Linked DNA regions of Homo sapiens: all the other regions are linked to region 1. Evidence: promoter capture Hi-C in human tissues and cell types (Jung and others, 2019). All regions are on one chromosome and are shown on one strand. The core of a region is centred on a gene start or on the middle of the fragment in contact, and the rest is flanking DNA. Distances in the headings are between cores, read along the strand shown.

Region 1 (2,700 bases), core at 149-2,648:
CAGACCACTTGGGGTCAGAAGTTGGAGACCAGCCTGGCCAACATAGAGAAAACCCGTCTCTACTAAAAATACAAAAATTAGCCGGGGCGCATGCCGGTAATCCCATCTACTCAGGAGGCTGAGGCAGGAGAATCGCTTGAACCCGGGAAGCGGAGGTTGCGGTGAGCCAAGATCGCGCCACTGCACCTGAGCCTGGGCGACAGAGCGAGACTCCCTCTCAAAAACAAAAAAACCCCCCAAATGAGTAAAGAGTAATGTGGATATTATATTATAAACGAACAAACAAAAAAGGACTTCGTATTCTTTTTGCATAGGGAAGGGGAAGAAATGTGGAGTGGAAGAGGATGGTACAGAAAAGGTGTAAAAAGAAAGGCTGTGGGAGGAGTAGGGTAGGAGGGCTTCTGAACTGGGGTTAGTGTCACACTGTGTAACTGATAATTTAAACTGCTGAAAATGAGACCACACTTAAAGATACAGGTCCCTTTAAAAGGAAGGCGGATGTTAAAAGCAATTTGCATTTTACCTAAAATGGGCTGCTTCTCCCTGTACCCTCTCCAAATACAGCCAGACTTTCTGTAGAAACATTTTAATCATGGGCACCCTTCCCCCGAAAAATCCACTCACTACCAGTACACACGACCTTCTGAGTTTAATGGACCTACGGAGGCCCATCCCTGGGCTCTCTGGGCTAGGTTAATCCCAGGTTAGGCCCCAAGCTCAGAGGTAGCAACGTTCCCAGCTCAACGACGCAGGAAGACCACGCCTCTAAATGTTCTGCAACCTCGTCCATTTCAGAATTTTCCGGGGTTCTGGGTAAACTGGCCTCACCAAGGATTCTGCCCCGTCTTGTTGCTCCCGTTTTTAAACACAGACCGGTGTGTGGGAGAGGCCATTATTTTTCCGGAACACTGTGCTCCTGGAGCAGATAGGGACACGCAGAGTGGCTTTACCGCAGCGCCAGCTTCAGCCTTACCCGGCTCCTCCTCCAGGCCACCGCCTCCTCCTCGCGCCCAACCCGCCTTCCCTGCTCACCCCCGGCCCGCTCCTCCCCTTTGCTCTCAGCGCGGACTCGGCCACTCACTACCGGCGCCGTGTTCCACCCGCCCACCGCATGGCCCCGTCCCTATGTCGCTGGTCTCGCCCCCTTCCAGGAGGGCCCAATGAGCGTTCACATGCGCCACAAGGCCCCGCCCCGCACCGCGCAGCCCCGCCCACAGGCTGAGTTAACCAATTCGCGGCCCCGGGCCCCGCCCCGCCCGCAGGCCCCGCCCCGGCGCCCGGCCCCACGCGCCCGCCTCCCTCCGGGGCGTTGCCGCCGCCGCGCCTCAGCAGCCCGCGCGGAGCCAGATGCCGCCCCCTCCGCCGGTCCCTCCCCCGGCGGCCTGGCGCCTCCCTCCCTCCCCACCGCGGTGACTCTCGGAGCGGGAGGCGGAGGCTGAGGCGGCCGCTCCTGCTGCTGCTACTGCCGCCGCCGCAGCGGCTGCTCGGGCTGAGCACGCCCCGGAACAGGCCGCCGCGCGCTGCGCGCCGGACCCGCTGCCCCTGCCGGCCCGGCCGGGTCGGGCGGCCCAGGTAAGCGCCGAGGCCGGGCCGCGCCTGCACCGCCCGGGCCCGCGCCGCGCCGCGCCGGGGCTTGGGGGAGCGGCCAGCCCTTTGTCTGCCGGGGAGGGGCCGCGGAGAGCGCCCCCGACCCCGCTCGGACCCCTGACTGCCCCAGCGGCGCGGCGCCCTGGTCTGGGCCTGGCCGCCTCTCGCCGCAGACCACCTCCCGCCTCCCTGACTCTTCGCCCGGGGGTCGCCTCCACAGGTGTCCGCGCCGCCCACCTTGTTGCTCACCTCACCGCGTCCGGGTGCCTGTCATCGCCCGTCCGCCCTCCCGACCTCTGGGCCCCTGCCTCTTCCCTCACCTGCGCCCACTCTGAGACTCTTACTCTCCATATTTCCCCAAACTAAACGCTGGGCCGCCCTTCCTCCCTCTGTAGTTTGATTGAACTGTCGTCTCCCGATTCCACCCCTCCCCGGTGAGCCTTCCTGGAAGGTACCTGGTGGGGGCACATATCTCACCTGGATGGCGGGCGTGTATGCACGAACCTGCAAAATTAACCACCTGGAGCCCCAAACTGCACCTCTCACCTCCTTTTCATCACCCCACCCCAACCACCTTCCTTTTTTTGGAACCTGGTAACCGAGACACTCAGGTCTGGACACCCAGCCTCTGCTAGGCCCTCCATCCCTCCCTCTGCCTTGTGAGCTGAACTTGTCTGAGCAGTGCCTGTTGTCAGGTTAGCCCCTGGGAAGGCGGCGGGGGCCGTGTTGGCCGCAAATCAAGAGTTTTATGAATAATGAGACGTGTGGCTTGCACCACCTCCTGTCTGAGGATCTCAGTATGCTCCAGCTGTGAATTATTTTGTCTCCTGTCACTCACAGAACTGAGAGGAACATGTCTGGCCAACTGCTGGGTAAATTGAGGTACAGGGTGTGTGGGTAAGGGACCTGGAGGCAAGTCATGGTTTGTCTTGAAGTTCTGTTCGCAGGAGCCTTGGCTCTTAGCTCCCTGCTACAACCACTGGGCTCCAGTTCCTGGAGTGTGTCCCCAAGTGATAACTGATCTCTTGTGCCATTAAAATGTCCAGAGATACCAGCAGCTTCCTCAGATTTAAAGTAGGACTTTGGATCATAAATAAAGGTGCGGGCTGTTAA
Region 2 (2,700 bases), core at 43-2,542, 260 kb after region 1:
CCCCCTTGATGGAGTCTGGTGGGGTTCAAGATCTGCAGGTCCCACCTTCCAGGGAACACCTGCACAAGTGAGACCTGCCCGATCAGCCCCGCGCTCCATCCGCAAACTGGGCAGATCCCAAGGGTGCCACGCGAGGACCCTGCACCTTGGCCGCTCCAGGGCGCCCCCCACCCGCGACCCCGGAAATCTCGCCCCTACCTGCTTCACCCTCGCCCCACCCACAGCGCACTTTTCGGGACCTCCCAGCGGCCCTTCCCCGGTTCTCTGGACCCCCGTCTCCCCGCCCTGCAACGCCCCCATCCTGGTGCCCACGAAAGGTCGTCCCAGTTCCCCTCTTCTCTACCTCAAAGGAGGAGGTGCAAATGAGGAAGCCTAAATAAAAACAGGAAACTCGATTTTTTTAAAAAGCCTCATTCAGGCTGAATTACGGGTAAGAGTATTTTTTTAAAAAGTCCGGAAATGCAAAGCTGGGGGCGGTTTTGCCGGCGTAACCCCGGCTCGGCCGCAGATCCGGAGCTGATCTCGCCTGCGCCGCTGCAGCAAACGCGGCGAGCAACGCGGGAGGCCCGGGACTGGGAGGCGGGGCGCGGGTCCACGAGCCGGGAGGAAGCCCCGAAAACTTCCACCCCGGCCCCTCTGCAGCCCCGCTCCCCACTTGCCCAGGCTGGGAAGGGCGCACAGGACCCGGGCGCCGGCGAACTGTGCGCAGCCCTCTCTCCGCGCCAGGGCACTCGGGCGACATCACCAGCGCGCTCTCTGTGGACCCCGCTGCCGTACAGAGGAGGCCCCTGGTCCTCTAGTCAGCGCTCGGAGCGGGCGCACGCGCTGAGCGCTTCCAGTATCCTCGCGCCTCAGCCGGCGCACCGGAGGCCGCACCGCCGCTGTGAGCGCAGCTGAAACCCCGCTGCCGGGCCAGGCGGGCAAGGCGCGCAGTGCAGGCGCCGGGGAGCTGCGCACGCCCCTCTCGGCGGGCCCACGGGGGACGGCCCCGGGCCTCTAGGGCAGCCCCCGCCCAGGTCCCAGCAGCCCGGCCCCCGGGGCTCCCAGGACCCGGCTCGCTAGACTCGGGGAGGCGCCCAGGGCCAGGGCGCACGGGCTGTGTGTGCCGGAGAGACGCCCGCCAGCCAGCCCCGCGCCCCCGAGCGCAGCCGCAGCTCCCAAAGCCCCTGGCCGCGGTCCTCTTCCCACCTCCCCTGACGCAGCCAGCGGCGATCGCTTACCGTCCCGGCGCAGCTGGCAGGGCTGGGCGGCTCTGCTCGCGGCCGCTCGGAGCGACTGCGCTGGGCGCGAGTGAGCCTCGAGGGAGGGAGGCGGGGCGCGCCGGGGCGCCCCGCCTGCCGCCAACCCGCACACTCCACTTCCCACTTTGTTTCCTTTTCACTTGCAACAGGAAAAACAACAGGTCCTCCAGGGCCTCGCCTTCCCCCGCCGCCCACACTCCCCAGTTCGCCTACCGCTAGAGGGGCATCATCCCAGGTGCCTCTGGAAGCTGCACCTTGCTTGCCCTTCTACAAAACAAGTTTTCTTTTTATGCAAAGGAAAACAACGAAATAAAGGTCCTAGGCGCCTTTAAGCGCTCCGCCTTCACGCAGGAAAGAATTTCAGCAGGAGCGGGAGAAAGGCTGAGAGCAGGAGAAGAAGAGGGGGTAACCTGCAGCTCTAGGCACCCAGGGACCCCAAGCGCCATTGCGAGGTGACCAGTGTTGGGGCTCAGGACACACACCCAAAATGTGACTATGGGAGACCAGCGTGTGCCACCCCAAAATATACTTCTTCGCCATATTTTGAAGGGATTATTCTTAGAAACTGCAGGCACAGGAGTAGATCTGAAAAGCTGTCCTTTTGTAAAATGATTTCTATCTATAAAGAAAATCTCCAGGCCTGGCACTGTGGCTCACTCCTGCAATCCCAGCAATTTGGGAGGCCGAGGCGGGAGGATCACTTGAGCCCAGGAATTCAAGCCAGCCTGGGCAACATAGGGAAACCCCCGTCTCTACAAAAAAATTAAAAATTAGCCAGTCGTGGTGGTGCACACCTTGTAGTCCCAGCTACTCGGGAGGCTGAGGTGGGAGGATGGCTTGAGCCAGGGAAATGGAGGCTGCAGTGATCCATGATGGCACCACTGCACTCCAGCCTGGGAAACAAAGTGAGACCCTGTCTCAAAAACAGAAAAGAAAAGGAAAATCTCCATTGGTAAAGTATTAGTATCAGGCGGAGGGCTGCTCAGAGCTAACTTTTCTTACCTGAGAAATTTTATCCGCATAAGAAGACAAGCTTCATTCACCTTACCCTCTCTCCCCTCACTCTCCCTTAACTTGTGTACCACCTCCCCAGGATCCCAAGCCTCTATTCCTTTTTTTCTTTTCTTTTCTTTCTTTTTCTTTTTTCTTTTCTTTTTTTTGAGACAGTCTTGCTCTGTTGTCCAGGCTGGAATGCAGTGGTGCCATCTCGGCTCACTGCAATCTCTGCATCCTGGGTTCAAGCAATTCTCCTACCTCAGCCTCCCAAGTAGCTGGGATTACAGGCACACGCCACGACACCCAGCTGATTTTCATGTTTTTTTGTTTGTTTTTTGTTGTTTTGTTTCTTTGTTTTGTTTATTTTGAGGAATCTTGTTCTGTTGCCCAGGCTGGAGTGCAGTGGCGTGATCTTGGCTCACCACAGCCTCAGCCTCCTGGGTTCAAGCAATTCTCCTGCCTC
Region 3 (2,700 bases), core at 55-2,554, 270 kb before region 1:
GGAGGTTGCAATGAGCCAAAATTGCGCCACTGCACTCCAGCCTGGGTGACGGAGCGAGACTCCGTCTGAAAAAAACCAAAAAACAAAAAAAAGTACCTACTCAAATGAGGCCTATTCATGTCACTTTAGCACTCCAATCAAATTGCTGTGAAATTCACTACTCGATGTACCAAACCCAGAGGTTACAAAAAGTGAACGGTGTGCTCAGCTTTTTTTTCAAAAGATATTCAATCAATATCTTTTTAAAATCTACACAACACTGAGTCACAACACAAGGCAGATTTTAATCATCTTTCTCTCAAGGATCATTTCTCTTCTGCCAATCTGATTCTCTTATTTGACAATCTTCCTTTTAGCCAAGACCTACTTTTAATATATTTTGGGATTTATTTCAATATCCACAATTAAGAGACTGCAGACAAACACAAAACAGCAACTCTTGAGACTCTAAAAATGGAAACCCAAATCATCTTCCCCCTATAGATAGTACAGGCAGGAGACTGACTGTGTCTCTGTCCTATCCGGCAGGTCCTTGAAACCTCTGAATTATTCAAAACGACAAGTGCATATGGCGGTATAAAGCAGCATTTTATTACATTCACGGGGACAACTGGAGGATTAAAATAAGAGTTTGGAATCTGGGATGGAGAGGAGACAAGCAGTACACACTGGTCAGATAACCACACAAACAAAATTAGGCAAGATGCCAGTCAGTATCCTAATTCTACAGGCACTAAGCTTAGATATGTAAGTTTAGTAAAAAGTAAACCCAATTAAACAGAATCTTCTGCATGGTGAGAATATGGATTTTTTTTCTTTTTGCTTATATTGCCTAAAATTTTTGCTATCATGAACTTTTTCCTTATTTATTGTGTCTATCTATCTATCTATTTTTTGAGACGAAGTCTCACTCTTGTCCCCTAGGCTGGAGTGCGATGGCGCGATCTCAGCTCACTGCAACCTCCACCTCCTGGGTTCAAGCAATTCTCCTGCCTCGGCCCCCCGAGTAGCTGGGATTATAGGCACCCACCACCACGCCCAGCTAATTTTTGTATTTTCAGTTGAGATGGGGTTTCACCATGTTGGCCAGGCTGGTCTAGAACTCCTGACCTCAGACGATACACCTGCCTTGGCCTCCCAAAGTGCTGGGATTACAGGCGTGAGCCACCGCACCTGGCCATGTTATATATATATATATAAATATATATAAATAAATATATATGTAAATATATATAAATATATATTTTTTCTTTTTTGAGACGGAGTCTCGCTGTCACCCAGGCTGGAGTGTGATGACGTCATCTCGGCTCACTGCAACCTCCACCTCCCAGGTTCAAGCAATTCTCCTGTCTCAGCCTCCCGAGTAGCTGGGACTACAGGCGCTGCCACTACGCCCGGCTAATTTTTTGTATTTTTAGTAGAGATGGGGTTTCACCATGCTGGCCAGGCTGGTCTCGAATTCCTGACGTCAGGTGATCCATCCGCCTCAGCCTCCCAAAGTGCTGGGATTACAGGCGTGAGCCACCGGGCCCGGCCTGAGGAAGAATCTTGAAGGTCAGGGAAGATACTTGAGATAAAGCAGAAGAAACTCAAGAAAGGCAGAAGACTGAATATGACAAAGCTTACCCCCTCAAATCAGCAAACAGTGAAATGAGAACCAAATGTCGAGACTGACATGAATAAGAAAGTTTTCTTTTAAAAATAGCAGCTCCTAATTGGATCCAGGAAAGATCATTCACCACATGCAAACTCACTTGGCTCTTGTTTACCCACCCGCCCTGCCCTTTTTTTTTTTCCACAAAAGAGAAGAGACTCAAAGAAGATTTCTTCTGAACGTGTGTCACCATTTATTGTAGTTTGCGTTAGGAATTGAACAGAGGACATTGTCTGTGGAGGGAAAAAAGGAAAAGAAAAAAGAAAGTATGCTTTTTATAGACTTAATTTCTTCAGAACACTTTATGGTTTCAAATCCTTTTTTTTTTTTTACCCCAAAGGAAATTTGAGAATTCAAGTATGTTAAGTAGGGAGCAGTAATACAAAAAGTCTTATACTTGTGTGCGCGTGTGGCTGTGTTTGTCTGTGTGTGTTGAAACCGGCAGACATACTCCCACATTCTTGCACCCTCTTTTGCTTTGGTAAGGCCAAACACATCACACAAATGACCCTGCCTCAAACTCACACACCCAAGGGTTGAAGAATTGATTTACCCCCAGAGGATAACTGTGAAGGTTTCAAACTGTCACGTAGCATTAAAAAAAAAACCCAACCCTCATCTCCCCAAAATATAAGTCACATAAGTCCTGATACACTTACACCCCTAGATTTTGCTGCAGCTGCTCCTCAGATGCCGAAGAGAGGCTTATCACAAGGACCAGAGCAGCAGGATTTTCTTTATTTTGTTTAGAATAAAAAAATCTTAAAGGGACATTTCAAAAGAAAAAAAAAACTGAAATTCAAATTCTGAAAATATCTTGCCTTTTTTATTAATCATGTCATCTAACACCAATTAAAAAAACAAATATGTGAATATGATATAAAAATACGATCCCAGGATTAACACTTGGTAGCAGGCACAGTTATCTCACAGAATATATGTTTGGAGGGCCAGGGAAAGGAGTTTACTTTTGTTTTTGCTTCTCTTAAAAAAATCCACAGCAGTGCAAGTAGGGTCAGGAAGGGGGAGAGGGGAAAAAAGATTCT

The links. Contacts are between HindIII fragments. The study calls those that stand out against the background at their distance.
Region 2: a contact is called between the fragment with the promoter of PIK3CD here and the fragment with the promoter of CTNNBIP1 in region 1, in 3 of the 25 tissues and cell types used here (adrenal gland, small bowel and spleen).
Region 3: a fragment that was not itself captured here is called in contact with the fragment with the promoter of CTNNBIP1 in region 1 in 2 of the 25 tissues and cell types used here (dorsolateral prefrontal cortex and hippocampus).

Annotation. Positions count from the first base shown.
Region 1 is chr1:9,908,967-9,911,666 of GRCh38, reverse strand. CTNNBIP1 (catenin beta interacting protein 1) reads left to right here and starts at 1,398. Exons shown (of 6, transcript NM_020248.3): 1 at 1,398-1,572. RefSeq lists enhancers at 1-129, 130-803 and silencers at 951-1,550, 1,561-1,620, 1,791-1,850. The HindIII fragment of the contact is 11,728 bases long and covers 1-2,700 here.
Region 2 is chr1:9,650,323-9,653,022 of GRCh38, reverse strand. It overlaps PIK3CD (phosphatidylinositol-4,5-bisphosphate 3-kinase catalytic subunit delta), which reads right to left and starts at 1,292. Exons shown (of 24, transcript NM_005026.5): 1 at 1,221-1,292. PIK3CD-AS1 (PIK3CD antisense RNA 1) reads left to right here. Exons shown (of 2, transcript NR_027045.1): 2 at 1-413. RefSeq lists an enhancer at 240-309 and a silencer at 490-1,379. The HindIII fragment of the contact is 15,008 bases long and covers 1-2,700 here.
Region 3 is chr1:10,180,363-10,183,062 of GRCh38, reverse strand. UBE4B (ubiquitination factor E4B) reads right to left here. Exons shown (of 28, transcript NM_001105562.3): 28 at 1,824-2,700. Among named protein-coding and RNA genes, the nearest start is that of KIF1B, 29 kb to the left of the region's middle. The HindIII fragment of the contact is 5,206 bases long and covers 1-2,700 here.